3 separate regions of the Homo sapiens genome follow, and all the other regions are linked to region 3. The links are contacts of gene promoters, found by promoter capture Hi-C in human tissues and cell types (Jung and others, 2019). All regions are on one chromosome and are shown on one strand. The core of a region is centred on a gene start or on the middle of the fragment in contact, and the rest is flanking DNA. Distances in the headings are between cores, read along the strand shown.

Region 1 (2,700 bases), core at 102-2,601, 120 kb before region 3:
GTGTGGTATTGTTGAAAGAATAAACACATAAATCAATGGGACAGAATACTCAGAATAGACCACACATACATGCTCAACTGATTTTCAACAAAGGTACAAACACAATTCAATAAGAGAAGGATAATCTTTTCATTGTGGTGCTAGCACTATTGGACATTCATATGCACAACAGAATCTCTATCTATACCTTACATCATGTATAAAAATTAACTTAAAATGGATCAGAACTAAATATACAACCTAAAAATGTAAAACGTCTTGAAGAAAGCACTGGAGAAAATCTTAATGACTCCACATTAGGTTAGTATTTCTTAGATATAACAGCAAAAGCATAACACATCTTTAAAAATTGATAAATTGAATTTCATCACAATTAAAGACTTCTGTCATGCAGTAACAGGCATTGTTAAAGAGAATGAGAAGACAAGCTACAGGCAGCGAGAAAATATTTGCCAAACACGTACCCAATAAAAGATTAATGTCCAGAATATATAAAGAGCTCTCAAATCTAAATCATAAGGAAACAAACAATCCAATAAAACTTGGGCAAAAGACTTAAACAGATACTTCACCAAAGACAATATATGTTTGGCAAATAAGTACAAAGATGTTCAACATCAGTAGTCACTAAGGAAATTCAAATTAAAAACACAATATGATAAAACTATACCTATTAGAATGTCTAAAATTTTTAAAATCTGACAATACCAAGTACTGACAAAGATGTGGAAAATATAACCCTCATATATTACTACCAGGAATGCAAAATGGTACAGCCACTTTGGAAAACAGTTTGGTATTCCATTACATTTACCATACCTCCCAGAAACCCCAATCCTAGATATTTACCCAAGTGAAATGAAATCTATGTTCACCTAAAAATCTGTTCACAAACATTGATAGTGAGTTGTTCATTATCACCTCAAACTGGAAACAGCCCAAATGTCCTTCAACTGGGGAATAGGTAAACACACGGTGATACGTCTTTACAATGAAATAATACTCAGCAACAAAAACGAATAACCTATTGATATACCCACCACCATGGATGAATCTCCAACACATTAATGCTAAGTGAAAGCAGGCACACTAAAAAGCCTACAAACCATGACTCCATTTATATGACATTCCGAGATAGGAAAGAACACAGGGAGAGAAAGCAGATCAGTAACTGCCAAGGTCTGCATGGTGGGAGAGCAGACAACAAAAGCTCACAAGGCAATTCTGGGAGGTGATGGAGCTCTTCTGTATCTCAATTGTGATGGTGCCTATATGACTATATATACATTTGTCAAAATTCAGAACTGAACTTCCTCATAATTATGTATTAATTGTTCAGAATTGTACATTAAAACAGGTGAATTTTACTGTATATAAATTATATCTACTTTTTTACATGAGAAAGAAAAAGAGTCTTCAAAAAAACCTATTATGATGCAGCATTGAAAAGAAAAGTTATTGTGTACCTGGGAAAATGCTGATCATTTGTCAAACAATGGAATAAAAAGACAGTAGAAACTGCCAAATTTACCAGACCAGAATACACCGAAACTAGGAAAAGTTGGTGTGACTGATTTATGTGCAACAGATGATCAGGTAGATACTGAATATTTATTTTTTTCAAAGTTTCCAGTTAACTTTTAGAAAAAGATATCTAACTTTTAGCAATATTACTTATAGAAAAGCTAGAACTCAAAATTTAATCTAAAGAATACATAGACAAAACCCTGGTAGACTTTAATATTCCTCAGACTTATTCTGTCAATCCTAAAGGTGCCAAAAATGTCAAAATTGTGGGCACATACAAAACTGGCCAAGGGAAGCAAAGACAATTAATAGTTCAATCTCACTTAGGACTACAGATGTAAAAAACCAAAATAAAATATTAGAAAATCAAAGTCACTGGGGTATTTTTTTTTTAAAAAAACTATACATTATGACTAAGTGTTTATTCCAGGAAGGCAAGAATGCATCAACATTCAAAAATCATGAACACAGATTATGAAAAACAGCATTTCACCTTGAAATCATATGTAACTCTGATAGATTATATCAGTTATCACATTATCATAGTTCAGAAGGATCTTTATATTTTGATTATAATGATGAAAAAACTGGTATGCAATTTCAAAAATTAAGGTATATTGTAATTTAGAAACTTTTCTAAAATTGTCTATATGAAAGGAAGTGCTTTTTCCTGAGAAACTATAAAGTGATACGAATCTTAGTGGCTATAATTTGGAATAAAGAAAATATAAGAATCCATCTTTTATCATGCTATTACCTTTATTTTTTCTCTTCAGCTGGCCCGAATTGGTTTCTGTTAATTTTGAAGAATCCTTCCTAATACACAAATCAAAGAAATAATAGAAACAATTACATAGTGAAACATCAAATCAGGTTGACATCACAAACATCTGGAAAGCTTTGTTAAACCAGAGATTCCCTGACCCCACCAAGGTAGTCTGGGCTGGGACTGGGGAGCCATAGATTATTTTTCAAACAAGGTTCCCAAAGAGATTTTGTTATCAGCCAGTTCTGGAACCACTGCTATGAGGAAACAGAGGCATTAACATGTCCTTCCCTTGATGTTTTTTCAGTATAGTTACAGATATAAAATTTTAGCATGAGAAAAATTAAACAAATGATAAAAACATACCATAATAATTTATGACTTGTCTCTGTAAAAAGAATTTTACA
Region 2 (2,700 bases), core at 136-2,635, 85 kb after region 3:
TTTTCATTCTTGAGGACACCACTTGTACTAAGAGTATCATCAACTGGTTCCACTGATTTGGCCCCATTGGAACAAAATAACCTTTGGGGTTGACCTTGGCATTGGCATCTCTCAGGTTTATTTTTGGTCTGATTAGTTTCCTGGTTGTTGTTCCATTTTTATGAGCCATTTCTTTCTCCAGGTTCTCTGTGAAATCTCTATCTGGTCATGCAGGGATGTTTGCTTTCTTGAGGGTCTGCTATTTTAGGTGCTGGCTTCACCCCATCTATCCTGGAATTCTAATACTGTATTTAAAAATAATAGACTGTGACTTTATAAAGTTTTCCTTTTGACGTCCCCTTAATAATCTCGCTCTCTTTCTCTGAAATTTGGCATTCGGGTTTGGGGTGCAGCTTGAGGCAGGAGCAGCACAAGCTGTAGAGAGGGAGTATTGTGCATTCTTACCAAGAGGCCTTTTGGCAATGCAGATGCGGAGCTGAGCATGCTGTCTGAGTCAGGGCAAACTCTGTTTCTGAGGCTTGTGCTCTGAGTCAGGATCTGCACCAAGGACGGCCCAAGGTCGCCAGCCTTGTGAGTATACCCCTGTCTCTGCGTGTGGCCTATGTGCAGGCTTCCTTCCACACGCCATCTCGCTACTGGCCTGACGTGCTTCCTGCGATGAGGCCAGAATCTCTGCAGGACAGACTAAGAGAATGGGCTGAAGTGGCAGCAGGAGAAACTAATTTTGCTGGAAAGTTTCTAAGGAGCCCAATTGGGAAGCTCAAGGAGAAGGTGAAACCTCTTTGGAGATATTTAGAATATCTATCTGTGTGAGCAGGAGATGCAGACCCAAGGGAAGCAAGGGCAGCTAGGGTGGGGGGATAGGAAGGGAGTTCCTAAAGCTTCTAGGCTGAAGCTTCTGCTGATCAGGATCATTTCTCCACTCCAGCAGCAAGTGCCTGACCAGAGTTGTTAAGCTAATTGTTAAATTAGAGTGGCTGGGGAAGCAAATTGCTTCATGATGGGGCTTCTCTGACTGTGTCCAAGGCTGATGTCATCTGGCCTTGTGCCTTGTTGAGGGTGTGGTGTGGGGCGGTGGGCAGGCCTGACACACGTGTTAATGAACCTTCATCCGCTGTAGCAAGCCCTTGCTCCTCGGAGGAGCCCGCATCTTCCATTGAGGGAAAATCACTCCCAACTCCTCTGTGCTTCTGTTTAATGTCCCCAACTCCTGAGTCTTGCAATGATGATATTTTAGATCATTTTCTCTAGAGGTTGTGAACTCAGTTCCCTACAGGGGCCAGACCATTAGCATAAAAGATCATAATGACCCATGTATAGATGATGAGTGGCAGCAATCAGGGACAGTAGGGGTGGTGGGGACTGTGGCAAACTGGAGGGTGGTGTCCCAGCAGCCACTCAGCCCCAGCTGATTGATGCCATGTAGGAATGTGGGCTCCATGTTGCCAGACCTTCCTGCTTCAAGAACAGCGGCAAATATGCACTTTCTTTGTGAAGTGGCCCAGTTTTTAAATGTTGAAGCTAATTAAAAGACATTGTGTTGGTCAGAGTCCATTCACAAGATGAGTTTGTCCTGTGTGCCCCTAGTTTGCAGCTTCTGATTCTGGTTCAAACTCCTCGGTTTACAGATTAGGAAACAGATCCAGAGAAGTTAAGCTTCTGGTCCAAGGTTACAGGGAGTCAGTGAAGGAGTCAGAATCACTACCTGTGGCCTCTAACTCCTGTCTGCTGCTATTCCACTTCTTGGTGCTGGTTTGGGACCAGACATTGTCTGCGCTGGGTCAGGCTGGCCAGAGGAGAGTAGACCTGGGTGGACATGGTTGTGTGATGTCTCATGTCGCATTATTATCCCTCTGCTTTTGTGAGTTGCTGAGCTCAGATGCCCCAGATGGGTGGGAAGGCTCAGGGAAGTCAGGAAGCTTTTGCAGGTAGCAGCAATGCTTAGGGAGAGGAAAAGAGTGGAGAGGATTTAGGCTGCCCCCTGGTTTGGGGCTCCTGAGGACTTAAGGCCATTCATTCCTACTCTTCATTCCTACTCTTTCCCATGCCATGCACATATGCAGGGCCACTCATTCATTCCTACTCTTTCCCATGGCATGCACATATGCAGGGCCACTTCCAAATCCGCATCCTTCCAGTCATTCAGGTGCATAGCTTGGGATCATCCTTAATTGTCCCCGCTCTTCCTCTGGAACTTCTCAGCTCTGAATCCCCTTGCCAGTTCTACCGCCACTCTCCAGTTCAGAAGTTTAATGATACAACATTGGTACTATTGCAATAGGCTTCAAACCTGACTCCCAATCTATTCTCCCCATTACCGTCTGATACGTCTTCCCAAGCACAGTCTTTGAACCTTGGCATGCTCCTGCTCAAAGTAGCTCCCATTGGATAAAGTAGCAACTCCTTAACTTGGCATCCCAGGCTCCAGAGCACCACAGCATTGCTGCCATGGTCATAAGGCTGGCCTGGGTGTGCATCCCAGCTCTGCCACTTATCAACTGTGACATCATGGGCAGTTTTCTTGACTTCTGTGGACCCGTTTGCTTCTTTGTGATAGGGGGTTTTACATAGAATTGTTTCAACGAATAAATGAGATCATGAATGTAAAGCAGTTAGCCTGGCATATACCGACTACTCAAAGGTATTATTCAAGGACCTCTACGCTCTGGCCCCGGTATTACCTGTCCCATAGGCTTAGCT
Region 3 (2,700 bases), core at 41-2,540:
CTTAAAATAGACTATAGCCTTGTTTCAGGGATCTCTCACTTGGTTTTATTGGTATGGGCTAAACAGGGCTTCCGTTTCATAAATGAAAGTCTCCAGTAACATGAATGAAAGGCTCCAGGGCAGAATCTCAGAGGGTTTCTATGAGTATCACTTGGAACCAAGCACAGGCAACTGCACATCCCTGTTTGGGTTTGGAATTGGAGATGGTGGGTTTGGGATGTGGTTACTCTTGTTTGGAATACATTCTCCTCCTCTTAACAGGTTGATTCTTCCTTTGGAGGTCTGCTTAACCTTCCCTGATTACCCTGTCAGTTCCATTGTACATACCCTTCCAGAGCATCACTTACCTATCCTTAGTGTGATTCTTTGAGTAACATGTGTCTCCCCCAGCAAACTCCACGGCAGGACTGGTCAGTTTTTGCTCACCACACCATCCCAGTGCCTAGCCCAGTGCCTGGAACTTAGTGTTCAATAGGTACTAGTAAAAATGAATGCGTGATAGCAGTCTATGAAGTGCTAGCTATAAAATGAACACGTGATAGGAGTCTATGAAGTGCTAGGTATAAAATAATGCGTGATAGGAGTCTATGAAGTGCTAGGTATAAAATAATATGTGATAGGAGTCTATGAAGTGCCAGGTATAAAATAATGCCTGACAGGAGTCTATGAAGTGCTAGGTATAAAATAATGTGTGATAGGAGTCTATGAAGTGCTAGGTATGCCCATGACATCCACATGACAATTCACCCAGAGGTATTTTTATATCCCTGTCGCTGATGAAAAAGCAGAGGTGTGGCTCCTCGGTGGAGGGCTCTGATTCCAAACTCTTGAGCCTCCCAACCACTGTCCTCCGGGTAAGAAACCGTATAATAGTATTCTGGGTACAAAATACGCACACAAATTGGCCAGAAAGCCATAATCCCCCACAGTCACATTCTCTTGAAGATCCCCTTGCCTTCCCCTTGCCCTGTGAACAAGGAGAGGCTCAGAATCCAGGGGGCGTCCGGCAGGGCTCCTCCCTCAGACCAGCGCAGCCCTCGGGGCGCTCAGAGCCCTGCCCTCCCTCCACTTCCCCTCGGGGTGGCTACCTCAGGCTCGCTCCCAAACCGGCTGTCTGGCTTCAGGCGACACCTGGCGCCTGGCCTCAGGCGAGAGGTGTGGGGAGAGACCGAGTGCCTCCCACCCTTCTTAAGAAGGAGAGCAGTAGAACCTCGGCGGGGAGGGCAGCAGCGGCCGGGGGTGACAGCAGCGGCGGGGCACGACCGCCGTTAGCGTTAGACGTTAGCGCTCCGCCTTCGCCTGGCAAACCCTGCGCGGGCTCCGCTGCCAGGTCACCAGGGGTAGCGCCGGGCGCGACGTCACAGAGCCGCCCCGCCTCTCCTGCAGCGGCGGGTTCCCAGGGTCCCGCTAGGGCGCTGCTAGGGGACGCTGAAAGCTGTTTTGGGCTTTGCTGGTGGTGGAAGGACCAGACGGCCTGGAGGGTTAAGGACTGGGCTGGGGACGTTAGGAAACCCGGGCTGGGGGCGTTGGGGGTGGGGCGGAATGTGTAGCCATTGACGGTGCGCTTTTGTAGGTGAGAGGGCAGAAGTGGAGCTTGATCTTTCGGCTTGTGGAAAGTGGACAGGTGAGAATTCCTCAGGAATCATAGTAACAACACTTCTTACAATGAGTTTTTGGTGCCAGGAATTGTTCTAAGTGCATTACACACATGAACTCATTTCATCCTTACTGTCACCCCATGAGGCAAGTACTATTGTTATCCCCATTTTTACAGATGAGGGAACTGAGCACAGAGAGGTTAAACTTGTCCAAGATGACAGTCAGCAAGTGACAGAGTCAGGATCTGAATCTGGGTTGCGTGGTCCCAGATTCCTCACTCTTGACCTTATAATGCTAAGAAAGGGGCATGGAGTGGATAGGAACAGAGCCTGAGATGCCTGGGGACAACAGGGAAAGATAGAAAATATTTATAGGGTAGAATGTGGTCACTGTGCCAGGGCACTTTTACAAACATGATGACATCAAAGTTTCACAGTAAACTCTGAAGGTAGGTATTACCTTCGCTTTGGAAATAAAAAACAGGCTCAAGGCTTCGAGTAATTTTGCCTGTGATCGAACAGCTGGCAGTAGGGCTCAGGGCCCAACTTTACTCCAGGTCTTCCGGTTTCAAGACTGTGTGTGTGTGTGTGTGTGTGTGTGTGTGTGTGTGTGTGTGTGTGTGTGTGTTTTGAGACAGGGTCTTGCTCTGTTGCCCAGGCTGGAGTGCAATGGGGTAATCATGACTCACTGCAGCCTCAATCTCCTAGGTCTAAGCAATCCTCCCACCTCAGCCTCCCAAGTAGCTGAGACTGCAGGTGCTTGCCACGATGACAGGCTAATTTTTATATTTTTATAAACGGGGTTTTGCCATGTTGCCCAGGCTGGTCTTGAATCCCTGGGCTCAAGTGATCCACCTGCCTTGGTCTCCCAAAGTATTGGGATTACAGGTTTGAGCTACCGCACCTGGTCTCAAGACTGTTCGTTTTAAGCACCCAAGGAGGCAAGAAAAGCCCCATCTTTCTCTGCTACATCCCGTGTCACTTCACACCTATTTTAAAGGGGCCCATTGCATCATCTAATCCTTCATTCCATTTATACAACAGTGTGTATTAGTCTAAATAGATTAGTTCACCCAGGCCCTTCAAAGCTTTCTCTGTTTGT

The links. Contacts are between HindIII fragments. The study calls those that stand out against the background at their distance.
Region 1: a fragment that was not itself captured here is called in contact with the fragment with the promoter of ROPN1 in region 3 in 2 of the 25 tissues and cell types used here (liver and stomach).
Region 2: a fragment that was not itself captured here is called in contact with the fragment with the promoter of ROPN1 in region 3 in 2 of the 25 tissues and cell types used here (IMR-90 fibroblasts and aorta).

The regions. Positions count from the first base shown.
Region 1 is chr3:123,874,275-123,876,974 of GRCh38, forward strand. It overlaps MYLK (myosin light chain kinase), which reads right to left. Exons shown (of 34, transcript NM_053025.4): 2 at 2,285-2,343. Among named protein-coding and RNA genes, the nearest start is that of MYLK, 8.7 kb to the right of the region's middle. The HindIII fragment of the contact is 6,903 bases long and covers 1-2,700 here.
Region 2 is chr3:124,075,397-124,078,096 of GRCh38, forward strand. All of the region lies in intron 1 of KALRN (kalirin RhoGEF kinase), which reads left to right. Among named protein-coding and RNA genes, the nearest start is that of KALRN, 43 kb to the left of the region's middle. The HindIII fragment of the contact is 3,644 bases long and covers 1-2,700 here.
Region 3 is chr3:123,990,834-123,993,533 of GRCh38, forward strand. It overlaps ROPN1 (rhophilin associated tail protein 1), which reads right to left and starts at 1,291. Exons shown (of 6, transcript NM_001317774.2): 1 at 1,089-1,291. RefSeq lists an enhancer at 1,063-1,579. The HindIII fragment of the contact is 7,331 bases long and covers 1-2,700 here.